7 separate regions of the Homo sapiens genome follow, and all the other regions are linked to region 1. Evidence: promoter capture Hi-C in 16 types of primary human blood cells and fetal thymus (Javierre and others, 2016). All regions are on one chromosome and are shown on one strand. Each heading gives the region's core, a stretch centred on a gene start or on the middle of the fragment in contact. The rest is flanking DNA. Distances are from core to core; before and after follow the strand shown. Region 1 holds the start of GRIN2A (glutamate ionotropic receptor NMDA type subunit 2A). Region 2 has its middle 110 kb from the start of HAPSTR1. Region 3 has its middle 130 kb from the start of LINC02177. Region 4 has its middle 110 kb from the start of LINC02177. Region 5 has its middle 91 kb from the start of LINC02177. Region 6 holds the start of LOC105371075 (a long non-coding RNA gene). Region 7 has its middle 160 kb from the start of LINC01195.

The links. Contacts are between HindIII fragments. The CHiCAGO score rates a contact against its expected background, and 5 or more counts as called.
Region 2: a fragment that was not itself captured here is called in contact with the fragment with the promoter of GRIN2A in region 1 in 1 of 17 cell types (endothelial precursors); the score reaches 5.5 in endothelial precursors.
Region 3: a contact is called between a fragment that was not itself captured here and the fragment with the promoter of GRIN2A in region 1, in 4 of 17 cell types (M1 macrophages, M2 macrophages, endothelial precursors and 1 more). The highest score is 11.9, in M1 macrophages.
Region 4: a fragment that was not itself captured here is called in contact with the fragment with the promoter of GRIN2A in region 1 in 1 of 17 cell types (M0 macrophages); the score reaches 5.8 in M0 macrophages.
Region 5: a contact is called between a fragment that was not itself captured here and the fragment with the promoter of GRIN2A in region 1, in 5 of 17 cell types (endothelial precursors, M2 macrophages, M0 macrophages and 2 more). The highest score is 10.8, in endothelial precursors.
Region 6: a fragment that was not itself captured here is called in contact with the fragment with the promoter of GRIN2A in region 1 in 4 of 17 cell types (endothelial precursors, M2 macrophages, erythroblasts and 1 more); the score reaches 8.7 in endothelial precursors.
Region 7: a fragment that was not itself captured here is called in contact with the fragment with the promoter of GRIN2A in region 1 in 1 of 17 cell types (endothelial precursors); the score reaches 5.6 in endothelial precursors.

What each region holds. Positions count from the first base shown.
Region 1 is chr16:10,180,782-10,183,983 of GRCh38, reverse strand. GRIN2A (glutamate ionotropic receptor NMDA type subunit 2A) reads left to right here and starts at 1,556. Exons shown (of 13, transcript NM_001134407.3): 1 at 1,556-2,107. RefSeq lists silencers at 2,289-2,348, 2,359-2,468. The HindIII fragment of the contact is 14,826 bases long and covers 1-3,202 here.
Region 2 is chr16:9,198,330-9,201,531 of GRCh38, reverse strand. No RefSeq gene overlaps it. Among named protein-coding and RNA genes, the nearest start is that of HAPSTR1, 110 kb to the right of the region's middle. The HindIII fragment of the contact is 887 bases long and covers 1,028-1,914 here.
Region 3 is chr16:9,223,379-9,226,580 of GRCh38, reverse strand. No RefSeq gene overlaps it. Among named protein-coding and RNA genes, the nearest start is that of LINC02177, 130 kb to the left of the region's middle. The HindIII fragment of the contact is 156 bases long and covers 1,525-1,680 here.
Region 4 is chr16:9,243,012-9,246,213 of GRCh38, reverse strand. No RefSeq gene overlaps it. Among named protein-coding and RNA genes, the nearest start is that of LINC02177, 110 kb to the left of the region's middle. The HindIII fragment of the contact is 3,560 bases long and covers 1-3,202 here.
Region 5 is chr16:9,262,959-9,266,160 of GRCh38, reverse strand. No RefSeq gene overlaps it. Among named protein-coding and RNA genes, the nearest start is that of LINC02177, 91 kb to the left of the region's middle. The HindIII fragment of the contact is 2,007 bases long and covers 479-2,485 here.
Region 6 is chr16:9,293,807-9,297,008 of GRCh38, reverse strand. LOC105371075 (a long non-coding RNA gene) reads right to left here and starts at 2,197. Exons shown (of 2, transcript XR_933060.2): 1 at 1,950-2,197. The HindIII fragment of the contact is 1,373 bases long and covers 762-2,134 here.
Region 7 is chr16:9,616,862-9,620,063 of GRCh38, reverse strand. No RefSeq gene overlaps it. Among named protein-coding and RNA genes, the nearest start is that of LINC01195, 160 kb to the right of the region's middle. The HindIII fragment of the contact is 157 bases long and covers 1,549-1,705 here.

The DNA.
Region 1 (3,202 bases), core at 307-2,806:
GGAACAGTCATTGCAAAACCTCTTAGAATTTAAGACCCCTTTCCTTCCAAGGCCTGAAAGGCAGACAGGCGTTGGAGATACAGGTGAATATAAAAGGGGCAGAGCTCCTCCCTTGACCATGTATTTCATGCCCAGTCGCTAGAATTCAAGTCAACCAAGCCCTCACACACCCGGGCCGTCCCATGTTCTCTGGCTCACCTCTTCTGGTAGCTTAGAAGTGGCAGCCTCAGGGAGGCTTCTGTTTGGTAGAACTTAGAAGGAAGCATGTGGGAAATGCAGATGTCTTTGCTTTTAGGATTCTGGCTCCCTGAGATCAGAGGAGTGGGTTCCCGTACGGGGGTGGCGAGGCACAGGGAGAAGCATTGGAGCAGACTCTGTGTGTGTGTGTGTGTGTGTGTGTGTGTGTGTGTGTGTGTCGGCGCGCCTGTGCGTGGAGGGGGATAACTGTACCCAGCGCGAGGCACTGGGGGAGGAGGAAGCGGTAGCAGAGATCTGAATAATTGATTCTTCAGCCGCACCAGACGCCCGGGAGCGGGCGGAGAGCGTGGTTCCAACACCACGGACAGCAGCGCGCGCCGCCGCAGGCGCCCCCGTCGCCAGCCAGCCACCTATCCTGGCCTTATTTGCCGCCGTGCGCTCTCGGAACGGGTGGCCGCGCTCCGCGTCGCCGCCGAGGGACTGCGGGGTCTGTCTCGACCCACCTAGGAGAGAGGCTGCGGGCAGGAGACGCTTTCGCCCGCCGGAGCTCGAAGCCTCTTGGGCTTGAGCGGGGGCTACTGCGTCTCGCCGGCTGAGAACAAGTCCCTAAGTTGGTGTGGAGGGCGCCGCTACCTTCCTTCTCCTCTTCCTCGGAGGCGACCGCAGCAGAAAGACGCCCCGGGAACCCGGCTTTGCCAGTGCTGTGAACCAGGGTGTCCAGGCGCTCACCGGACTCCCGCTGGGAAGTGGGGAGCCGAACGCCCGGCGCGGAGCTGGCCCAGCAGCGAAGGGCCCGGAGGGAGCTGCCTTTCCCCGCCCGCGCCTCTCTCGGCCGGGGACCGCGGGGATCCCCGGCCACACGCGAGCGCGCTCCCACACTCACACACACACTCGCCCTCAAACACACCAGCCCGGAGCTGGGTTGCGGAGAGGGTGCTCCGGCGCGCTCAGAGGACCGGGCAGTTGCCGTCCGGAGTGGGGCAGGAAGCGGAGCTAGGGATCTTGGAGGGGAGCTCCTAGGGCTTGGCCGGATCATGGGACCGGGTGAGCGCTGAGAATCGCGGCCGCAGCCATCAGCCCTGGAGATGACCAGGAGCGGCCACTGCTGAGAACTATGTGGAGAGAGGCTGCGGTGAGTGCTAGCGCGGGACGCCGGGCCTGGGAGGCCCCCTTGGGAAGGGGGGAGGTGGGAGGCCTGAAGAGGGAGGAAGCGGCAGGATCACAAGAGGGTCGCTGCGTGGGAAAGATCCACCTCCCTCGGGGAACCGGGACCGCGGGAGCCCGCGTCCTTCCCTCCCCCTCTCCTACTGCTGGCTCGTCACAAACTCAGCCAGCGCCCCCCCACCCTCGTTACCTCCTCTTTCTCTCCCTACCTCCCTCGCTCAGCAGCTCCCGGTCGCACAACTCCCAGCAGCCGGCGCTGGGGAGGTGGTAGGGGGTGCGGGTGGAGGTGCCCAGTTAGCTTCTCGTGGGTGGCCAACCTGGGGCTCCCATTCTCCTGTGCACCCTGGAGTGGAGCTCCCGCTATCAGCCACAGGGGCTGAGGATCCGCACTGGGGGCGTCGTGGGCATCGGGCTTCAGCTTCCCCCCTCTTGTCTAGCCCCCCTGGGCGCATAGGGGGGCTTGTGAGCACTGCAGACTGCAGCCTTCCCCTCAACCCTCCCTCCCCTCGTTGGTGGGCTGACCCTGCCTCTCCTTCTCTCCTCCGCCCCGTTAGAGCCCTGCTGCAGAGCCTCCGGCTGGGATAGCCGCCCCCCGTGGGGGCGATGCGGACAGCGCGGGACAGCCAGGGGAGCGCGCTGGGGCCGCAGCATGCGGGAACCCGCTAAACCCGGTGGCTGCTGAGGCGGCCGAGATGCTCGTGCGCGCAGCGCGCCCCACTGCATCCTCGACCTTCTCGGGCTACAGGTACGTCCCAGAGGGAGATCAGGGCTCCTTGGGCCGGGGAGGAGGGAGACTCGACCGGAGGGAGAGCGGGAGAGGGATCAGGCTAGAGAGGGAGAGGGAAAGCGGGAGGGAGCCCAGCGGCGAAGTGCAGGAGGGGCACCAGGGGGCGCTGCGGCTCCGCGCTCCGCGGCGCTTACCCAGGAACGTCGAGGCCTCTTGGAGTTCGCCTCAACTTCCCCCGGCTCCAGCAGCGTCCGTCCCGAGAGGCGCGCGTCAGGGCACGCGTGCACGACCGTGCTGGTATTTGCAGGTACGCAGGGCTGTGCACCTGCCGCAGTTCATGCGTGTGCACCACCTGAGGACATGTGAGGACTCCGGCTGGCCGTGGGCACCGCTACAGCAGTCTGAGGAAGTGCGCAGAAAAGCGCGCGTGCCTATGAGCGTGTGCGGCCCACTGCCCACGTGCACCTAGGACTTGGCAACAGCGCCCGCAGTAGAAAGGCTAGGGAGGGGCTGTACAGTCCACGTCCGTCTGGGAGCTTCTTGGGAGCCTACCTTTCCCCCTACGCACGTTCTTTGCCAGCTCCTACGCGCTGGCCCGCGGGGGGACGCGCCTACTCTCCAGAATTCAGCATTGCACACGGCGCGCGTGAGAGAGGGTGTGTGTGTGTGAACATGTGTGTGTGCGTGTGTGTGTGCACGTGTGTGTGCACGCGCGCGTGTAGGGGTGAAGGACTCTCCACGGCCCCTTGGCTCGAGGTGGGGCGAGCCCCAAGTTCCCCAGGCACAGCGGAGCCTGGGCCCACCAGGCAGCGTCCTCACTCCCAAGCACTTGGGGTGTACTCTGACTGAGAGGAGCCGGGTCTGTAGTTGGGGCTGGGCGTAGAGCAAAGTGTGTGGTGCACACGACGGGCTCGTAGGGGGCGGGGTCAGCCAACTAGCTGAGCTCTCAAGCTGGGACGCGGGGTCTGGGTGCCGCCTCCGCACGCCCTGCGGGGTCTGTAGTTCGCTCCGCGCCAGCAGGGGGCGGGGTTGATAACTTGGTCCTCTCTATCCCAGGTGGGAGGGGTTGGATGGAGGGTTTATTCTGTGCACCTAGGAGCTTGGTGGGGTACA
Region 2 (3,202 bases), core at 222-2,721, 980 kb after region 1:
TCTGTTGCACAAAAGTTTAAGTATGTGAAGAGACGGCTATGTCTATTAGCTTGACTTAATCATTCCACAATGTATACATATATCAAAACATCACACTGTTCCTCCAAAATATCTACAATTATTATTTCTCCATTTTTTATTTATTATGTTTTGAGATGAAGTCTCACTCTGTCACCCAGGTTGGAGTGCACTGGCGCGATCTCAGCTTACTACAACCCCCACCTCCCAGGTTCAGGCGATTCTCCTGCCTTGGCCCACCGAGTAGCTAGGATTACAGGCACCTGCCACCACATGTGACTAATTTTTGTATTTTTAATAGAGACGAGGTTTTACCATGTTGGCCAGGCTGGTCTCAAAGTCCTGACCTCAGGTGATCCACCCTCCTCAGCCTCCCGAAGTGCTGAGATTACAGGTGGGAGCCACGGCACCCAGGCTATTTGTACATTTTTTTAAAATTGTGTTTAAAGGAAAGGAAAGAAAGTCATAGTATTCCTAGGGAGAACTTCCTAAATAGGCAGAGGAATTCAAATAAGAGGGGAAGGTCTACCTGCAGATAGTGGATCATTCAAACTGATACAGCTTTAAGATAATTGTCAAATCCCTGGAGGAAACAGGGATTTTACTCCAGGGATTTGTTTTACTCCAGTAAAACAGGGAGGGGGTGTTGGGAAGGGAGAAGATTCCTAAGAGTTTGTCTTCCCAGATCACACCAGTATTTTCCAAAGTGTAGAAAATGTGCTCGTGGCATATAAAATTATTCGAGTTGAACACAGCATTGCAAAACATCTCATCACACAGTCAAACGGTCACTCTCTGTCTATTGGTTTTCAACCCTCCCAATTAATGCAAAGAGAAAGTCTCCCTGGATGAGTTTGTCTTTAAGAACTGGAACCCTTCCTAATCCTTTTTAACTTACAGAGCCCTTGCCTCTGGCTAAGAGTCTTCCCCAGCAAATGTACCCAAGTGGAATGGAATACCATTGTCTCCTTTGTCACTGTCTTCACTTTGCTGTTTTTACATGTAAGCTTTTATTTTTCAATTGGCAATTCATTTTTTAACTTTTTAATATTTATATAATGGTTGAAAGGTTTGCAAATCTGTCTTTAATTCCATTCTAGTTGTTTGCCTTTTTTTTTTGAGACGGAGTCTCACACTCTCTCCCAGGCTGGAATGCAGTGGTGCGATCTCAGCTCACTGCAACCTCCGCTTCCCAGGTTCAAACTATTCTCCTGCCTCAGCCTCCCTAGTAGCTGGGATTACAGGTGCCCGCCACCACAACCAGCTAATTTTTTGTATTTTTTTAGTAGAGACAGGGTTTCACTATGTTGGCCAGGCTGGTCCCAAATACCTGACCTCATGATCCACCCGCCTCGGCCTCCAAAGTGCTGGGATTAAAAGTATGAGCCATCATGCCCAGAATGTTTGCCCATTTTTACATATATTTTACAATTGGAAGAAAGGAAAGAAAGAGGAAAAGAAGGAAGAAGGAGGAAGGAAGGAAGGAGAAGGGGAAGGGGAAGGGAAGGGAAAGGGAGGGAGGGAAGGAAGGAGAGAAGGAAGGAAAATGAAGGAAGGAGGGAGGGAGGGAAGGAAGGAAGGAAGGAAGGAAGGAAGGAAGGAAGGAAGGAAGGAAGGACTTATGTAGAAAAAAACCTAAGGGATGTAAACCATCCAACGCTTTTTTAAAAACACTGTATTGATTTTTATGCTTAGCGTTAGCATTTATTTCCTCTTTATGACATTGGGTTTCCATTTATAGTAGTGACAAAGTTTCCTGTTTAAAATAGTCTATTAATTTAATTTTAAAATGAGTTGGCTTTATATCAAGTAAAAAAACAGAACATGGATATAGATACAGCAGAAATCACACAGGTGGTAAGCGAATGACTCAAGTTTGGGTAACACTGGGAAGCTTGATTCTTTTTTTAATATTTGGCTTCCTGAAGTTTAACTCTTGGAAATGTGAGGCACATCCGCTCCTGGGGCAGAGGCAGGAAGGCTCAAAGGCGGCGCCGGTGGGAGGGAGCAGAGGGTGTCAGGATGTGCTCTCCCAGACATCCCAGGAAGTTCCCAGCATCTTGGATCCAGCTGCTGGCTTGTCAAGGTCCTTGCTCTGGGTTAATAAGCTGGGAACAGACGGAGAGCTAGTGTATAGATCGAGATGGCGGATTTTCAAGGAGGCAATTTAATGAGCAGTGGTTTGAATTGAGACCAATTTTAATGTCTTTTCTGTTTTCCACCAACTGTCACAGAAATTGCCACAAATGATGTCTTAATTCTGTTCCCTAGCGGGTCTCTGATATGGCAAAGGATGAATTTTAAATTGTTTGATCAGAATTAGCAACATTAGTCACTGCCAATAGCCTTTTAATTTCCACAGAGCTGCCAAGGGGAGCAAAAATAGAATTGTGAGGAGAGTTCCAGCAGGCAGATGTGCTCCTGGCAGAAGAGGCCTCGTGGTCTGCTGGAGGTGTCTTCAGGTGCTCTGGGGTTGGTGGAGCAAGGCCAGGGAGGTGGTCGGGGGGCAAGCGGTTTTAGCCCCAGCTTTCCACTTCCTCTGGGTGGCAAGGGTTTGCTGTCCCAAGAAACTGTGGATCCCGGCCGGGCACGGTAGCTCACACCTGTAATCCCAGCACTTTGGGAGGCCGAGGCAGGTGGATCACCTGAGGTCAGGAGTTCGAGACCAGCCTGGCCAACACAGTGAAACCCAGTCTCTACTAAAAATACAAAAATTAGCTGGGCGTGGTAGTAGGCACCTGTAATCCCAGCTACTTGGGAGGCTGAGGCAGGAGAATCACTTGAACCGGGGAGGTGGAGGTTGTAGTAAGCCAAGATTGTGCCACTGCACTCCAGCCTGGGTGACAGAGCAAGACCCCATCTCAAAAAAAAAAAAGGAAGGAAGGAAGGAAGGAAGGAAGGAAGGAAGGAAGGAAGGAAGGAGGGAAGGAAGGAAGGAAGAAAGGAACGAACTGTGGATTACGAGGGTGGTACATCGTGGACCTGCCACTCCTGCGTGAAGATCAAATTCCCCTCCTCCTGTCTCTGGCTACAACTTCCCAGGTCCCCAGGGCATGTGCCGTTTGCTCCTAATGGCAGTGCTGCATTCCCACCCAGCAGCCAGACTGACCTTTTCATTCCTAAAACAGTCCAGGCACTGTGGCTCATGCCTGTCATCCCAGCACTTTGGGAGACCAAGGAGGGA
Region 3 (3,202 bases), core at 353-2,852, 960 kb after region 1:
TTGAGACCCAATCACTGAAGCCCAGGATATTGAGATCAGCCCAGATGACATGGAGAGACCCTGTCTCTACCAAAAAAAAAAAAAATTACCCAGGTGTGGTGGTGTGCGCCTATAGTCCCAGCTCCTGGGAAGGATGAGGTGGGAGGATTGCTTGAGCCTGGGAGGGAGAGGCTGCAGTAAGCTGTGAAGACACCACTGTACTCCAGCCTGGACAACAGAGCCAGACCCTGTCAGGAAGAAAGGAAGGGAAGGGAGGGGAGGGGAGGGAAGGAAGGAAAAGGGAAGGGAGGGAAGGAAGGAAGGGAAGGGAGGGAAGGAAGGAAGGGAAGGGAGGGAAGGAGGGAAGGAAGGAAGGAAGGAAGGAAGGAAGGAAAGAAGGAAGGAGAAGGGAAGGGAAGGAAGGAAGGAGAAGGGAAGGGAAGGAAGGAAGGAGAAGGGAAGGGAAGGAAGGAAGGAAGGAAAACGGAAAGGAAGGGAGAGGGAAGGAAGGGAAGGGAGGGAGGGAAGGAAGGAAGGAAGGAGGGAAGGAAGGAAAAGAAAGAAAGAAAAAAGAAAGAAAGAGAAAAGAAAAGAAAGAAAGAAAAGAAAGAAAGGGAAATAAAGAAGAAAGAAAAAGAAAAGAAAGAAAGCAGGCAAGGAAGGGGGCAAGGAGAGAGAAAAGAAAGAAAGAGAAAAAGAAATGAAAAGGAAAGGAAAGGAAAGAGAGAAGGAAGGAAGGAAAGAAAGAGAAAGGAAGGAAGGAAAGAAGAAGGAAGGAAGGACGGAAGGAAGGAAGGAAGGGAGGAAAAAAAGTATTCTCTCACAGTTCTGGACGCCAGAAGCCAGAAATCAATGTGTTCCCAGGGTTGGTTCCTTCTGCAAGCTCTAGGGGGAGCATGTGTCTCTCGCCTCTCTGCAGCTTCTGGGGATTGCCACAGTCCTGGGTGCTCCTTGACATGTAGGCCCCGCACTCTGATCCCTGCATCTATCATCACCCCATCATCACCTGGTGTTCTCCTCTGCATCTTCTAAACTTTTTATAAGGACACTAGTCATTGGATTTAGGGCCTACCCAGATAATCCAGGATGATCTCATCTTGAGATTCCTAATCTAACTACATCTGTAAAGCCCCTTTCTCCAAATAAAGTCCCATCCACTGGTTCTGGGTGGACATATCTTTTCGGAAGACTAACATTTAGCACACGACAGATATTCGACACAGTTACCCCAGGCAGGGACTGCTCTATTCTGCATGCTGTGTAATAGCTAACGTTTACTAGGCGTTTGCTTTGTGCCAGACAGTATGCAAACTGATTTCCACCCATTAGTTCATTTGTCCTACTCACAATTTCCTCCATCTCAGCATGTGAAAGTGTGGCTGTCCCTTCCCCAGGCCCTCAGTGCCTGCAGAACAATGATACGTGAATGAAACCTTCCTCCATTGCCATCCATTCTCCTTTGATCATTTATAATTTCATCACTTTAAAGGATAGAAGTAATAGCCCTGCTTCAAAAGAGGCAATCCTTTTATCTTCTCTGAAGCTTTCATTTGGCATCAGCGAGGGACAAGATTGCAGAACCTAACTATGATTTGTTTCTTTAAAGTTATTTTAACAATGCTAGGTGTGGCATTTGCCTGTTTGGGGGCGGGCGGAATACAAACAAGTAAAAAAAACCAAACAGACAAACTTTTCCAAGCTTGGGGATTTTCAACAATACTTGATGCCAAGTAGAAGTAATAGTAATTAAAGAATAATGACAGCAGCAATCACAACTAGCATTCATTTATTGAGCATTTACTATGTGCCAGGTACTCTTATAAGTACTTTACATGCACACTCATTTCAAGCCCTCAACAACCCCATATGGTAGGTACTAAAATTATTCCCATTTTACAGATGAGGAAGCTGAGGCTTACTGAGGATAAGGCACTTGCCTTGAGTTACAGAGCTAGTAACCGGTAGAACTGAGATTTAAACCCAGGAAGTCTGACAAGAACATTGCATTCTAGTTGGCATGTATTCTAGCATGTGATGGAAATAATGTTCAAAATCCTAAGGAAATTGAACACTCAAAGGATTTTCAGTAAAGTAATTTTACTTTTGTTTAGATGGGTGCTTCACCTTGGCCAGTCACCATGAGAGCACAACTGAACAAAGGGGAACGAGAGCCATTATTCCTGACGCAAGTCCTGCCTGTGTGCCCTTTCCCCATTGGCTGGAGTCGGGCCGCACAATCTAAACTAGTTCTGGTTGGCTAAACATTTGAACTTTCTTTAGATAAGATGGGCACGTAAGAGAGAGGGGAAAGGGGAAGGGGTGTCTGTAATGAGCTAGAGAGCTAGTCTTTTTTTCAAATAAGGAAAGGAATGTGAGTTGGTATTGATAACACCTGGTACTGTAGCATGTCTGGGCACATAACAAAGGCAGAAACGAAGAAAGAGGAGAAAAGGGAAAGGGCGGGGGGCGGTACTAGAATTAAAGAATAAAGGATTGACCAGACTCTTTGAAGAGAAACCTCATTATATCCCACAGTTTTCCCCTTCTTTTTTTTATAATTCAGTTCCTTTGGTTGTAGGACTGAGGTTCCCATATCCTTGCAGTCTGTATCTCCTAGGGTACTTTCTCAAGTCCTTGCCTATGAGCCTCTCCATCTCAGGGCCAACACATCAAATCCTTCTCATGCTTAGAATCATTCTGATTTCACCTTCTGCTGCATGGAGCTAAATAAGACACAGCCAGTGCCCTGTAGGAGCCTATAGCCCAGAGGGCAAGACAGGCAGGTTAAGGAGCACTTACAATTAGCAGGGATTATGGCCTATCATAGAGTGGATGGGGGAGGTGCACAGAGAGTCTATAGGATAGAGAAGCCAGACAGGCTCCCTGCAGATGCTGACACCAGAGGTGAGACTGGATAACCAAGAAGAGTTAGGCAGACACCAGTGCTGGCTTTCAGGCTGGACAATCTACGCAGGGGTACCAGCCCTTGCACAGACCTAGAGCCAAGAGAGAAGCTAGCGAATGAATCCAATTCTGCAGTGAATTAAGAATATTCCTTGGTAACACCTCTTGAGAACACAAAATAGCAAATGCTTATGTAGACCTCACTAAGTGTCGAACACAGTTCTGGGCACTTTGTATATATTCCCTCCTTTAATCCTTGCAGCACCCCCAAGAGGTCAGTGCTGTTATTATCCACATTTTCCAGCCTGTCTCAACAGCT
Region 4 (3,202 bases), core at 324-2,823, 940 kb after region 1:
CCAGTCTCTACAAAAAAAAAAAAAAAAAAAGCAAAACTGAAGTTTCCCCAAGAAAAATAAACACTGCAACACAGGGCCGGGCACGCTGGCTCATGCCTCTAATCCCAGCACTTTGGGAGGCCAAAGCGGGTGCATCACTTGAGGCCAGGAGTTCAAGACCAGCCTGGGCAACATGACAAAACCCCGTCTCTACAAAAAATACAAAAATTAGCTGGGCGTGGTGGGGGGCACCTCTAATCCAAGCTACTCAGAAGGGTGAGGCAGGAGAATCACTCTAATCCAGGAGGCAGAGGTTGCAGTGAACTGAGATCATGCCACTGAACTCCAGCCTGGGTGACAGGGCAAAACTCCATCTCAAAAGAAAAGAAAAGAGGAAAGGAAAAGAGAAGGAGAAGGAGAGGAGGAAGGAGCAACATAGATAAACTGCCTGCATTTCCAGCCCGCCTGACTTGTGCCATGAATTTCAGATTCAAGACTGCAACATCAACTCTTACCTGAACTTCTAGCCTGTCAGCCTGCCTTACAGACTTCAGACTTTCCAACCCCTACAATCATATGAGCCAATGCCTTAAAATACACACGTGTGCACGCACACACACACACACACATACACCCCACTACTGGTTCTGTTTCTCTGTAGAACTTCAGTTAATACAGCAAATAAAGCAGACAGAGCCCCTGGGGATGGAGACCATGGAGGAATTCAAGAATGACGCCCCTACTATGCTCAAGGAGCTTTTGTATGTGTTATCAAATCCTCACCCACCATCCATAAAGACAGTTTTGCCATTTCTCCAGGATTCAGAGAGCTTAAGTGACTCGCCCAGGGTCACCTAACTGAAAATCAAACCCATAACTGTCTGCCTCCAACATCCACACTCTTTCATGCACCAACTACAGTGCCCTCAGAAACATGGTATCAGAGAGTCCAGGAGCATCACTTTTTTCCAGAATGCCAAAAGGAGCTCTTTCTCAAGTCCTTCCGTGAAAAGTCATCAAGGTCAAAAACCAACATGCATTTCTTCTAGATGCAAAGAATGGAAAACCCAACTCAAGCTCCCTTGGGTAACAAAGGGCACTTTTCCACTCCCATGTGTGGGAGGCCCAGCGGCAGATCTTAACACCTGAGCTGAGAACAGAGGTGCCAAGAGCATCATGAGAGTTTGATTTCTGTTGCCATCCCTCCTCTGGATGATAACCATCCCAAGCTCCTCATTGTGGCCTTGGAAGCCTGCAGCTTTCATCACTGGAACTGCCAGCAGTTTCTCTGGAAAGAGAAATCCTCCCTGAGAGTTTAAAGACTTGGAATTAAGAATTGTGGGCCTGGTTTAGCTCTCTTCTCTCTTGCCAGAACTAACTGAGATGCAACCCAACAAAGGCCATACTGTTCCTGGACCAAACCGAGGGTCAGGCTGCTTACTCTCACCGCCCAATAACCAGATACAGATGAACTGGGGAGGAAGACAGTTTTTATTTCTGTAACCAGGTACAGGGAGAAGGCCTGGAAAATAACACCAGACCAACTCAAAATTACAAAGTTTTCCAGAGCTCATATACCTTCTAAGCTATATGTCTACGTGTAAGCGTGCATTCATCTGAAGACATAAGTGATTAACTTCTCATCTGTAACTAAGAGCTAAGTCCTGAAGAACTTCCTCTGGAGTCTCATTAAATTTACTTAATCTAAATGGGTCCAGGTGCTGGGGAGATTACCCTTATCTTGTCTTCTGCTAAATCATGAAGGTTTGGGGAGTCCCTTCAGAACCCCAATAAACTTGTTTGTCGAAGCCTGGGGAGTTTCTTCAGACCTCCCAATAAACTTGTTTAATCCCAAATGGGTCCTGTTAAGAATTCCTTCGTTATCTTGTCATGTTTCAAGGCCCAGGAAAGGCCTAGGCAAAACTCTTGGGGGGCTTTTGTTACATTCCAGCCTTTGTATAAGGGCACTGGCCCTCTCAGCTCTTAATATTTAACTTCACCACTCAGTCAGTGCTGAAACAGTTGTTATGGAGGCCTACCAGTTCAGCTGTTAGGGAGACCTGGCTTGCCACAATACTATGTGACTTCAAATCCCTGCTCCATCACTCACCTGCTGGTGACTCTGGACAGTAACCTTAACCCTTCCTCCATTGTTCCATCTATAAAATAGATGTAAGAATTAGATTTCCCTCAAAGGATTGGGATGAGGATTAAACGGATTAATATGCATTTATGGGCCGGGCGCGGTGGCTCACTCCTGTAACCCCAGCACTTTGGGAGGCCGACGCAGGCGGATCACCTGAGGTCAGGAGTTCGAGACCAGCCTGACCAACATCATGAAACCCCATCTCTACTAAAAATACAAAAATTAGCTGGGCGTGGTGATGTGTGCCTGTAGTCCCAGCTACTCAGGAGGCTGAGGCCAGAGAATCGCTTGAACCCAGGAGGCAGAGGTTGCAATGAACCAAGATCATGTCATTACACTCCAGCCTGGACAACAAGAGCAAAACTCCACCTCAAAAAGGAAAAAAATGCATCTATAAAGTGATTGCAATAGTGACTAGCACACAGTAGTAGTGGTACATGAAGGTGACTGTTAATTGAATTACCAGAAGTAGGAATTGACAGGTGCATGCCCTCGCCTGAAGCCTGGTTCTGCCCCACGTGAGTCACAAGAATTAAAAGAGGCAGAGGATGATTCCCCTACAGGAAATGGATGTACAGTTAGCAAAGAAAGGAGAATTCGGAGCAGAAAGGCCAGCACAGCTGCTGTCTGATAAAGTGACCTCCATGAAATGCCACAATACCGGATTATTTTCTTTCCTATTAGAGACAAACCTAAGGTTGAAGCTGCCTTAAATTGAGATGATAAAAAATATCCTAATTATGTGCGAGAATAAAACAGAGCAGGTCATCCCGGCCTGCTGCTAGAGTTTCCTTTGTGTTTCTACCTACCAAAAATGAATCCAGGACAATCAGACATTTAAAGTCTACCTTTGGCCAGGCGAGGTGGCTCATGCCTGTAATCTCAGCACTCTGGGAGGCCAAGGCGGGTAGATCACTTGAGGTCAGGAGTTCGAGACCAGCCTGGCCAACATGGTGAAACCCCATCTCTACTAAAAATACAAAAATTAGCAAGGCTTGGTGGCACATGCCTGTAATCCCAGCTACTTGGGAGGCTGAGACAGGAGAATCACTTGAACCCTGGAGGTTGAGGTTGCAG
Region 5 (3,202 bases), core at 233-2,732, 920 kb after region 1:
TCAGAGCTGTGAAGGGCAGAATATGATATTGTAACATATATTCTAATTTGAATCCCAGAAAATAAAAGAGAGAGAATAAAAATGAGTTTATTTGAAAAGGCAAAAACTGAGAGTTTTCCAGAACTAGTAAAGACATGAATCTACAGATACAAGGGTACCATTTACACCAAACTGACTAAGTTAAAAAGAAGCCTATTCCTAGATACAATGTAGTAAAGCTATAGAACATCAAAGACAAATAGGAAGTCTTAAACCAGCAGCAGATGGAAGAAACCAGCAACAACCCTCAGCACAGATGTAACAATTAGACCATCAACAACTGGACTTTTCTTAACGGTAGCGACAAGAGTCATCAAAATTCTCTCTTCATCGGGTTGAGAAAAAGAGAACTGTCAAGCTAGAATAGCAGATCTAACAAAACTGTATCTCAAGAATAAGAGCAAAATAAGGACATTTTCAGACTTATAAAAATAAAGCTTTAACCAATAGGCCAACTAAAATAATTTCTAAAGGATGTAGTTGAGAGAGAATGAAAATGAACCCAAATAAGAAGGCCTGAGATTCAAGAAGATTAGCAAAGGGGAAAAAGGATAAAACACGTAGGTTAATCTAAAGAACCACTGTATTCATAAAATATAGCTGTCTAACAAGTAGGCTTAATAAAAAGAACTGAAGTCCTCAGCAATGAGAATGTGTCAGTTAGGAAAGAAATGGCTAGGGTTAAAGTAGTCTGAGATCTTCATATCATCAGGCATGGTGGGAAGGTGATGGCAGTCAAGATACCAACATTACAGCCTGGGCAACACAGTGAGGCCCTGTCTCCAGAAAATAAAAATAAAAAATAAATTATCCGGTTGTGGAGGTGCATGCCTGTAATCCAAAATACTCATGAGGCCGAGGTAGGAGGCTGCCTAGAGCCCTGAAGTTTGAGGCTGCAGTGAACTATGATCATGCCATGGCACTCCAGCCTGAGGGACAGCCTCTAAAATTAAAAAAAAAAAAAAAGGATACTGCATTAAAAGTTAAACTGACATTAAAAGTAAAAGATACTAACATTAAAAGTCTCATGTGCCTAGTAAAATTTCAAAGATAATAATTTAAAGAGTAAAAGCAGAGATTATAACTTCCATCTCAGGAAAGAAAAAAAAAAGTAATAAGAAAAAAACTTAATTTTTATAGACCAAAAAAGATAAATTATATATATATATATATATATATATATATATATATATATATATATAAAAATGCTGTACCAATGAAACCTCAAAAAAGTTACAACAGGAGAAACAATCCAAATAGATCAATAATCACAATAAATGTAATGGAAATAACCATCTCAGTTAAAAGAGATTATCAAATTAGATGGGACGGGGCAGGGAATCCAGCTATCTACTGTTAAAAAAAAAAAAAAGCTAAAACGTAAAAATATAGGAAGGTTTTAATATAGCAAGTAAAGGAACAGACAAAGATATTAGGTTGGTGCAAACATAATTGCATTTTCACCAACCTAATACATCAGCCAAATACTAACAAAATAAAGGTGAGTGGCCATATTAATACCAAATAAAATGGCTTTTTAGTAAAAAATATATATTAGGGAGAGAGAGTCATTGCAACATAATAAAGCATTTGCTTCTCCATGAAGACATGATTCTAAGAACATTTGCATATAGTCAAATAACTTTACAATACATACTGCAGATGCTTCCTCAGACTTCTCTACAGAGGATCTCAGCTGGCCTCACACCCTAACAAGTGTGGAGAGAAATGACTGTGGGTGGCCAGGTCAGCTGTTGGATGAAGTGTCCCCAGCCCTGGTAAAAACGGCCAAGATATGATAACTTCTCCCCATCTTTCTAGAGATATGAGTCATTCTTCTTTGCATGAGGAATAAAGAGGTCAGAGCTGAAGCGTCTTTTCCATAATCCCTTGAGAAGGCAGAAGTGTTAGATTAAGCTCCTACTTTACAGGCTGGGGACAGGAACACTGAAAAGAATAAAGAAACAATTTGTAGCTGGGTGTGGTGGCACGCCTGTCGTCCCAGCTACTTGGAAGGCTGAGACTGGAGGATTGCTTGAGCCCAGGAGATCGAGGCTGCAGTGAGCTATGATCACACCACTACACTCCAGCCTGAGTGACACACCAAGACCCTGTCCCTAAAAAGAAAAAATAAAAGAGAGAAACAATTTGAATTGAAAAGGCAGAAACCTTGACTTTGTTGAATCTAATATTCCTCTGATTTTTTTTTCTTAACACAGATCTACAAAATTTTGGCAAACAGAGACCTGATCCAGCCCTCTCCTTTCAAAGATGAGAAAACAGAAAACACACAGAGAGGTGATGTGGCTTGCCCGAAGTCACACAAATAATGTATTTGCATGTACATATAATCATTAATATTCACACGAGGACCCAAAAAAGATTGTGAAAACAAGTGAATTTAAATGTTAAAATGGCAAATTCTCCCTCAATAAAGTAAAAAGCTTCTATCGAACAGCCCCACTAAATTAAAAAATGCACTTCAATAGGTCTGCTTTCCCTCCGCAAAGGGCTAGCAAACAAGAAAGGCATAGCATGCTGTGCACGGCATCGCAATGTCAGATAGCTGCTGACTCCAGTAATTCATCATTGAATTGAAAGCATTACATACGGGAAGAGCAAAAATCTAATTCCAGCTCATTTCAATAAGAATTGATCTAAGGGTTCATTACATAAAGTAATTTTTACTAACACAACTTTGAACGCGTCCTCCAACAAGGGTTAGAATCTCTCCCATGATAGCGGGAGCCGATCAGGGGAAATCTGCATGCAGATAAATGCTGCCTGCTAAGTTGCAGATTCCTTGCGTTCAATTTAACTAAGTTGTTTTTCTTTTTTAATGTTTGCTTAATATTGGAGAGGGCTGGGAAACTGGAGTTAGGGATTATTTTTAAAAGAGATCTAGGGGCCAGACGCAGTGACTCATGCCTGTAATCCCTGAACCTTTGGAGGCAGACGCAGGAGGGTTGCTTAAGCCCAGGAATTCAAGACCAGCCTGGGCAACATAGTGAGACACTATCTCTACCAAAAAAAAAAAAAAAATTTAAAATTAGTCGGACATGGTGGCATGCTCCTATAGTCCCAGGAAGGCCGAGGTGGGAGGATTGCTTGAGCCCTGAGGTCAAGACTCCAGGGAGCTGTGATCACGCCACTGCACCCCAGC
Region 6 (3,202 bases), core at 199-2,698, 890 kb after region 1:
TAAAATTAAAAAAAAAAAAAAAAAGAATCTGTGACCAGACAACTCTTTACATTCTTGTTGGCCATCCCAAGATTAATCAATCATACCAATAATCGAAATTACAGAAAATCTATCCAACACAGTGGCCATTTCCAGAAATTAGATTGTTCCTCATTAGCGGGGGATTTTCTTTTTCTCTATATTATTTCCCACTAATATTAAAAAAATATTTTTACTGGATTTTTTCCATCATTTTCCCAGCATGGACCTAATAGCAACCAAGAAGTACTTTAAAAATTCCATTATCTTTATCGAATGGAAATTCTCACAATATCACAATTGCCAAAGGTCTCTTTTATTCTGGTGTTAACCTTGGGAAGATTTTAGATGTCCTTTGGGGCATGCACAGAGGACCGAGGAAATCTTTCTTTTCTACATCCTTGGAGAGCTCAGCACACTTGACTAAGTATGAAACTGTTCACTCCTGATTTGTTTCTCTGGTTGAATATTGATTTGACTTCTGTTGTATATCACAAATGCACACCAATCTCCAGAATCGTGGGGCACTGAGGGTTTCTGTTTAATATTCAACTTGGAGCCACTCAAGCACTCACACAATTTTTTTTTTAGTTGCTCCACCTGTTGTCCTCCCAGATGGATGAGGTAAGAATGTCGTGTATAAAACAAAGTAATTGCTGTGGCTGTTAAACAATTCAGGACCACTTCCCCTGAGCTCTGCTGGGGATTTACAAAGTCCCACAGATGCCAAGCTTGAAGAAGCTTAAAAGGGGAGCTGCTCATTTGGAACTGAGTAAATCCAGTGATCTCTCTGGTTATGTAGCAAACCTGTCTAAGTCTGCGTGTCCGATATATTTGCGCTTTTGTACTGGCTAAGTCCATACTTGGGCACATCTGGCATTCCCCCTATTTATGAGACTGACACCTATGCTGCATGTTGGAGGGGAAATATATGGTTCTGAGCAGTATTTCTGGTGCCTGGACACTTGAAGTTACTTGATCTAAATGCAAGTCTTTAAGTGAGAGAATCATCAGGGGAATTCTATTTTTAAAATCCCAAAGTGTTTAAAAATAAAATAAGATTCTTAAGGACAAATCAGTTTGTTTTGGGGGTGGAGGGAATCATCTGGATATTTGCTTTTCCCCTCATTTTTTTTTTTATTTATTTTTTATTATTTTTTTTTAGAGACAGGATCTGGCTCTGTCACCCAGACTGCAGTGCAGTAACACAATCATAGCTCACTTGCAGCTTCAAACTTCCAGGCTCAAGTGATTCTCCTGAGTAGCTAGGACTACAGACACATGCCACCATACCTAGTTAATTTTTTTTTAATTATTTCCTGTAGACCAGGCACAGTGGCTCACACCTGTAATCCCAGCACTTTGGGAGGCTGAGGCGGGTGGATCATTAGAGGTCAGGAGTTCGACACCAGCCTGGCCAACATGGTGAGACCCCGTTTCTACTAAAACTAGAAAAGTCAGCTGGGTATGGTGGCACACGCATGTAATCCCAGCTACTCAGGAGGCTGAGGCAGGAGAATCTCTTGAACCCAAGAGACAGAGGATGCAGTGAGCCGAGAATGCACCACTGCACTCCAGCCTGGGCAACAGAGTGAGACTCTGTCTCAAAAAAAAAATTTATTTATTTATTTATTGTAGAGACAATGTCTCACCATGTTGCCCAGGCTGGTCTCAAACTCCTAGCCTCAAGCGATCCTTCCACCTCAGCCTGGCAAATTTCTTGGTTACAGGTATGCGCCATCATGCCCAACCCTCTCCTTTCTGCTAATCCTCCATCATTTGTGATGATGGTTGGTTGGTTAGGTGTTGGGAGAGATTTAAGAAAGATGTCTCAATCAGCAGAAGGCATTGCCTATCCCCCTGGTGCTACTGGGTGGCATTGAGAGGACAGTAAGTTTCCTAAGATTCTGCAAACCAGATGGAATTCTTACCTTGTTACATCACCCAAGGGCCCCAAGGAGGCTTCAGCTATTGAGGTGGATGCAAAGAATCCCAGTGCCAGTAGCAGCCTTCACTGCTGTGTGCATTTGTAAAGTGGAACAAACCAGATGTTGATGGTACACAAGACTGCACAGGCAAGAAGCGGGCAATAAGACAGGTGTCAGGTGGATAAGCTTTTTGATGTGCTGCTGAATTCGGTTTGCCAGTATTTTATTGAGGATTTTTGCATCAATGTTCATCAAGGATATTGGTCTAAAATTCTCTTTTTTGGTTGTGTCTCTGCCCGGCTTTGGTATCAGAATGATGCTGGCCTCATAAAATGAGTTAGGGAAGATTCCCTCTTTTTCTATTGATTGGAATAGTTTCAGAAGGAATGGTACCAGTTCCTCCTTGTACCTCTGGTAGAATTCGGCTGTGAATCCATCTGGTCCTGGACTCTTTTTGGTTGGTAAGCTATTGATTATTGCCACAATTTCAGCTCCTGTTATTGGTCTATTCAGAGATTCAACTTCTTCCTGGTTTAGTCTTGGGAGAGTGTATGTGTCAAGGAATTCATCCATTTCTTCTAGATTTTCTAGTTTATTTGCGTAGAGGTGTTTGTAGTATTCTCTGATGGTAGTTTGTATTTCTGTGGGATCGGTGCTGATATCCCCTTTATCATTTTTTACTGCATCTATTTGATTCTTCTCTCTTTTTTTCTTTATTAGTCTTGCTAGCGGTCTATCAATTTTGTTGATCCTTTCAAAAAACCACCTCCTGGATTCATTAATTTTTTTGAAGGGTTTTTTGTGTCTCTATTTCCTTCAGTTCTGCTTCAAGTGGGCTTCATCCCTGGGATGCAAGGCTGGTTCAATACACGCAAATCAATAAATGTAATCCAGCATATAAACAGAACCAAAGACAAAAACCACATGATTATCTCAATAGATGCAGAAAAGGCCTTTGACAAAATTCAACAACCCTTCATGCTAAAAACTCTCAATACATTAGGTATTGGTGGGACGTATCTCAAAATAATAAGACCTATCTATGACAAACCCACAGCCAATATCATACTGAATGGGCAAAAACTGGAAGCATTCCCTTTGAAAACTGGCACAAGACAGGGATGCCCTCTCTCACCACTCCTATTCAACATAGTGTTGGAAGTTCTGGCCAGGGCAATTAGGCAGGAGAAGGAAATAAAGGGTATTCAATTAGGAAAAGAGGAAGTCAAATTGTCCCTGTTTGCAGACGACATGAT
Region 7 (3,202 bases), core at 378-2,877, 560 kb after region 1:
ACCCATAGCCTCCTCACTCCCAGCACATTACCTTATCCCCTAAAGAGAAATTAGAAGCAGGTGAGAAAAACCTCAAGTTTTTTTTTCTAAAACTGACCGGCATTCACACTCTGGTGGCTTCATAATTAAGCTAAGTGGAACTGAATTTCCTAGAATCCCCTTCCCTGGCTGCTCCCAGTTGGGCCTCAGGAGAGACCTGAAGGAAGAGCTGGAGCATGGGCCGTCATGCGGCTCACACATGTTGTTGATCTGTTGACTTGTCCTGGCAAGTGGCAGCAGCTGGACTTGCAACAGTTCCTTCCCCTGAATCCTCTTTCATTGCCTTTGGCTCTTGGGTCAGGTGCCTATGTTTGCCTAAGGGCCCCTGGCTTTTGCAGGACACTCATATCATTAATATCAGGGACCAAAACAAACAAACAAAAAACAAAAACCCTAATGCAAGTCTCCATCTGTCCTCCGTCTGGAGTGTGGCTCCACTCACAGCTTTGGGTTCCAGCTTGTTTTTTATTTCCTCTACTTTACACCCATCTTCCCTTTCTTATTTCTTCTGCTATGAACTTCAGGTTCCAACATAAAGTGCCTAGCTCCCGACTGATCCCCGACTGGTGCACTTCTGCATCCTTTCCTCCTCCTGTCTTATCTATCTTCCAATATATGATATGGTTTGGATTTGTGTCCCTACCCAAATCTCACGTCAAATCTCATGTCAAATTGGCGGAGGGGCTTGGAGGGAGGTGATGGGAGGGGCAGATTTTCCCCTTGCTGTTCTCATGATAGTGAGTGAGTTCTCACGACATTTGATGGTTTAAAAGTGTGGCACTTCCCCTGTCTCTTTCTCCTTCCACCATGTGAAGAAGGTCCTTGTTCCCCTTTGCCTCCCATGGTTGTAAGTTTCCTGAGGCCTCCCAGTCATGTTTTCTGTTAAGCCTGCAGAACTGTGAGTCAATTAAGCCTCTTTTCTTCATAAATTACCCAGTCTCAGGTAGTTCTTTACAGCAGTGTGAAAATGGACTAACACACATCCCTATGCTCAGAATCTCATTATCTCCCACCTGCATCCACTAGTAACCCTTTCTTCTTTCCCTTAAGCTTCTCTCTCTCTCTCTTTTTTGGTCCATTGTATCATTTTAAAAGCAAGGTTCAAGTCTCTCCCATCTTAAAACAGGAATACCAAAATAAACAAAACAAGTAAGCAAACAAAAATAAAATGTCAAATTCCCTGAACATCTCATTTGTCTCTTCTCTTATTGCCCGATGGTAGCCTGTAGCAATCTCAGGGTCTGTAATTTCCCACACCTGTTCACTCACCTACTTCTGATAATCTGGCTTCTGCTCCATTACTTCTGTGAAATTCCGTCATTTTCTATAGTTCAGGGATCCTCCCCCCAGAAAAACTCTTCTGGTCCTGTTGTGACCTTAAACAGAGAAAATTAAATCTAATTCTAAATAACTTGGCTTGTTACTATATTTGTGAAGTCAAGAACTTCCATCCGGGAAAGCAATGTGATGTCTTGGGCTAGTCTCAGAGGAACTATTTTGACCCAAGCTTGTACTGATCATGGAAATCCAGGTTATATCAAGAAGGTAGGCTTGGATAACTGTATTTCATACAGTCCTAGAATGTTGAAGTCATTAAGACATTAAACATAAAATATTGCACCACAATGAGGTGACCGCAGAAATTGAGAGCCAGTGCTTAAAAGCTTTTATGGCAATTTCGCAAAATAATTTTGAGTCTAATAAATCTAAAAAAAGGACTTGTCTTGATTTCATTTTTCTAGTAATTCACTGTTTTGTAAATTTTTTTGCAAGTATTGGTCTGTGAAGTATTAGAGGAAAATGCTCCTTTTCCAAAGATAGCTTAAGAAACACTGTTTTAGGATACATTTGTTTGGTGCTCAGAATCTCCATGGGTCACTCAATTTTTCTTCTTTCCTGGTCCAACACCTGCATCGCTGACTTTAAAGATCTTACATTTTCTAGCTTTTTCAACCTGAGGGGATTCTAGATTCCTGCAGAGAAATAAGAGGTTAGAGACAAGAAGGACCCATATGAAGATGTCCTGAAGCAATTAGCTCCATGAATGGGAGGAACAAAAAGAAGGTGTACTGAGATACTTGGGCAGTTAAATGCTTCTGCCTTAAGTCAGCTGCTAATCCCCTAGGGAAGATGGAGTCTGAGAGAAAGTTATAAATTGTCTCTCTCTGTCTCTCTCTCTCTCTCTTTTTTTTTTTTTTTTTTTTTTTTTGCTATCTGTAACTAAACTTGAGATTTGTTAACATTCCCCACTGACAGCCTCCTTGTTATTTCCATGATCAATACAAGCTTGGGTCAAAATAGTTCCTCTGAGACTAGCCCAGGATATCACATTGCCTTCCCCAATGGAAGTTCTTGACTTCACAAATATAGTAATGAGTCAAGTTATTTAGAATTAGATTTAATTTTCCTTGTTATGAAATATAATGGAAAACCACATATTGCATAATTTCATTCATATGAATTTTCCAGAATAGGTGAATTTGTAGAGACAGAAAGCAGATGAGTGGTTGGAAGGGCCTAGGGAGAGAGGAGAATTAGGAGTAACTGCTTAATGGGTACAGAATTCTGCTTAGGGTGATAAAAATGTTCTGGAACACGATAGTGGTGAGGGTTGCACAACATCATGAATATACTTAATGCCACTGAATTGTACTCTTTAAAATGGCTAAAATGATAAATGTCTTGCTATGTGTATTTTACCACAATAAAAAGAAAATCTAATACAACTTTTCAATCTCTATTGTACTTAACTTCTTAGGGCAATTATACTCAATCACTCATTCCTTCTTTGACATCTTCTCTTCTCAAGGCTTTCAGGACCCTGTAGGTGCCCATCATTTTAATATCCTTTCCAAAGCTCCGCTGACTTTCTGATTCATCTCCCTAGCCCTTAATGTTGGTTTTCCTTGGGAAATAGTTCTATTCTTCTTATTGTTATTACACTGAGCACATTCTTTCGGATCTCTCACCCAATCCCGTGGCTTATTTTCTATTTCCATATGCATCTTTTGCCCACCCACTCTTGGGAGCTCTAGATCCTTATGCTAGCTGTCTCTTGGGCCCCCTACAAGGTTATCTAGAAAGCATCTCAAGTTCAACATGTCCAAAACCTAACTGAACATTCCTCCCACCTCCTCCAAATCTGCTCATCCTCCAGCTTTCC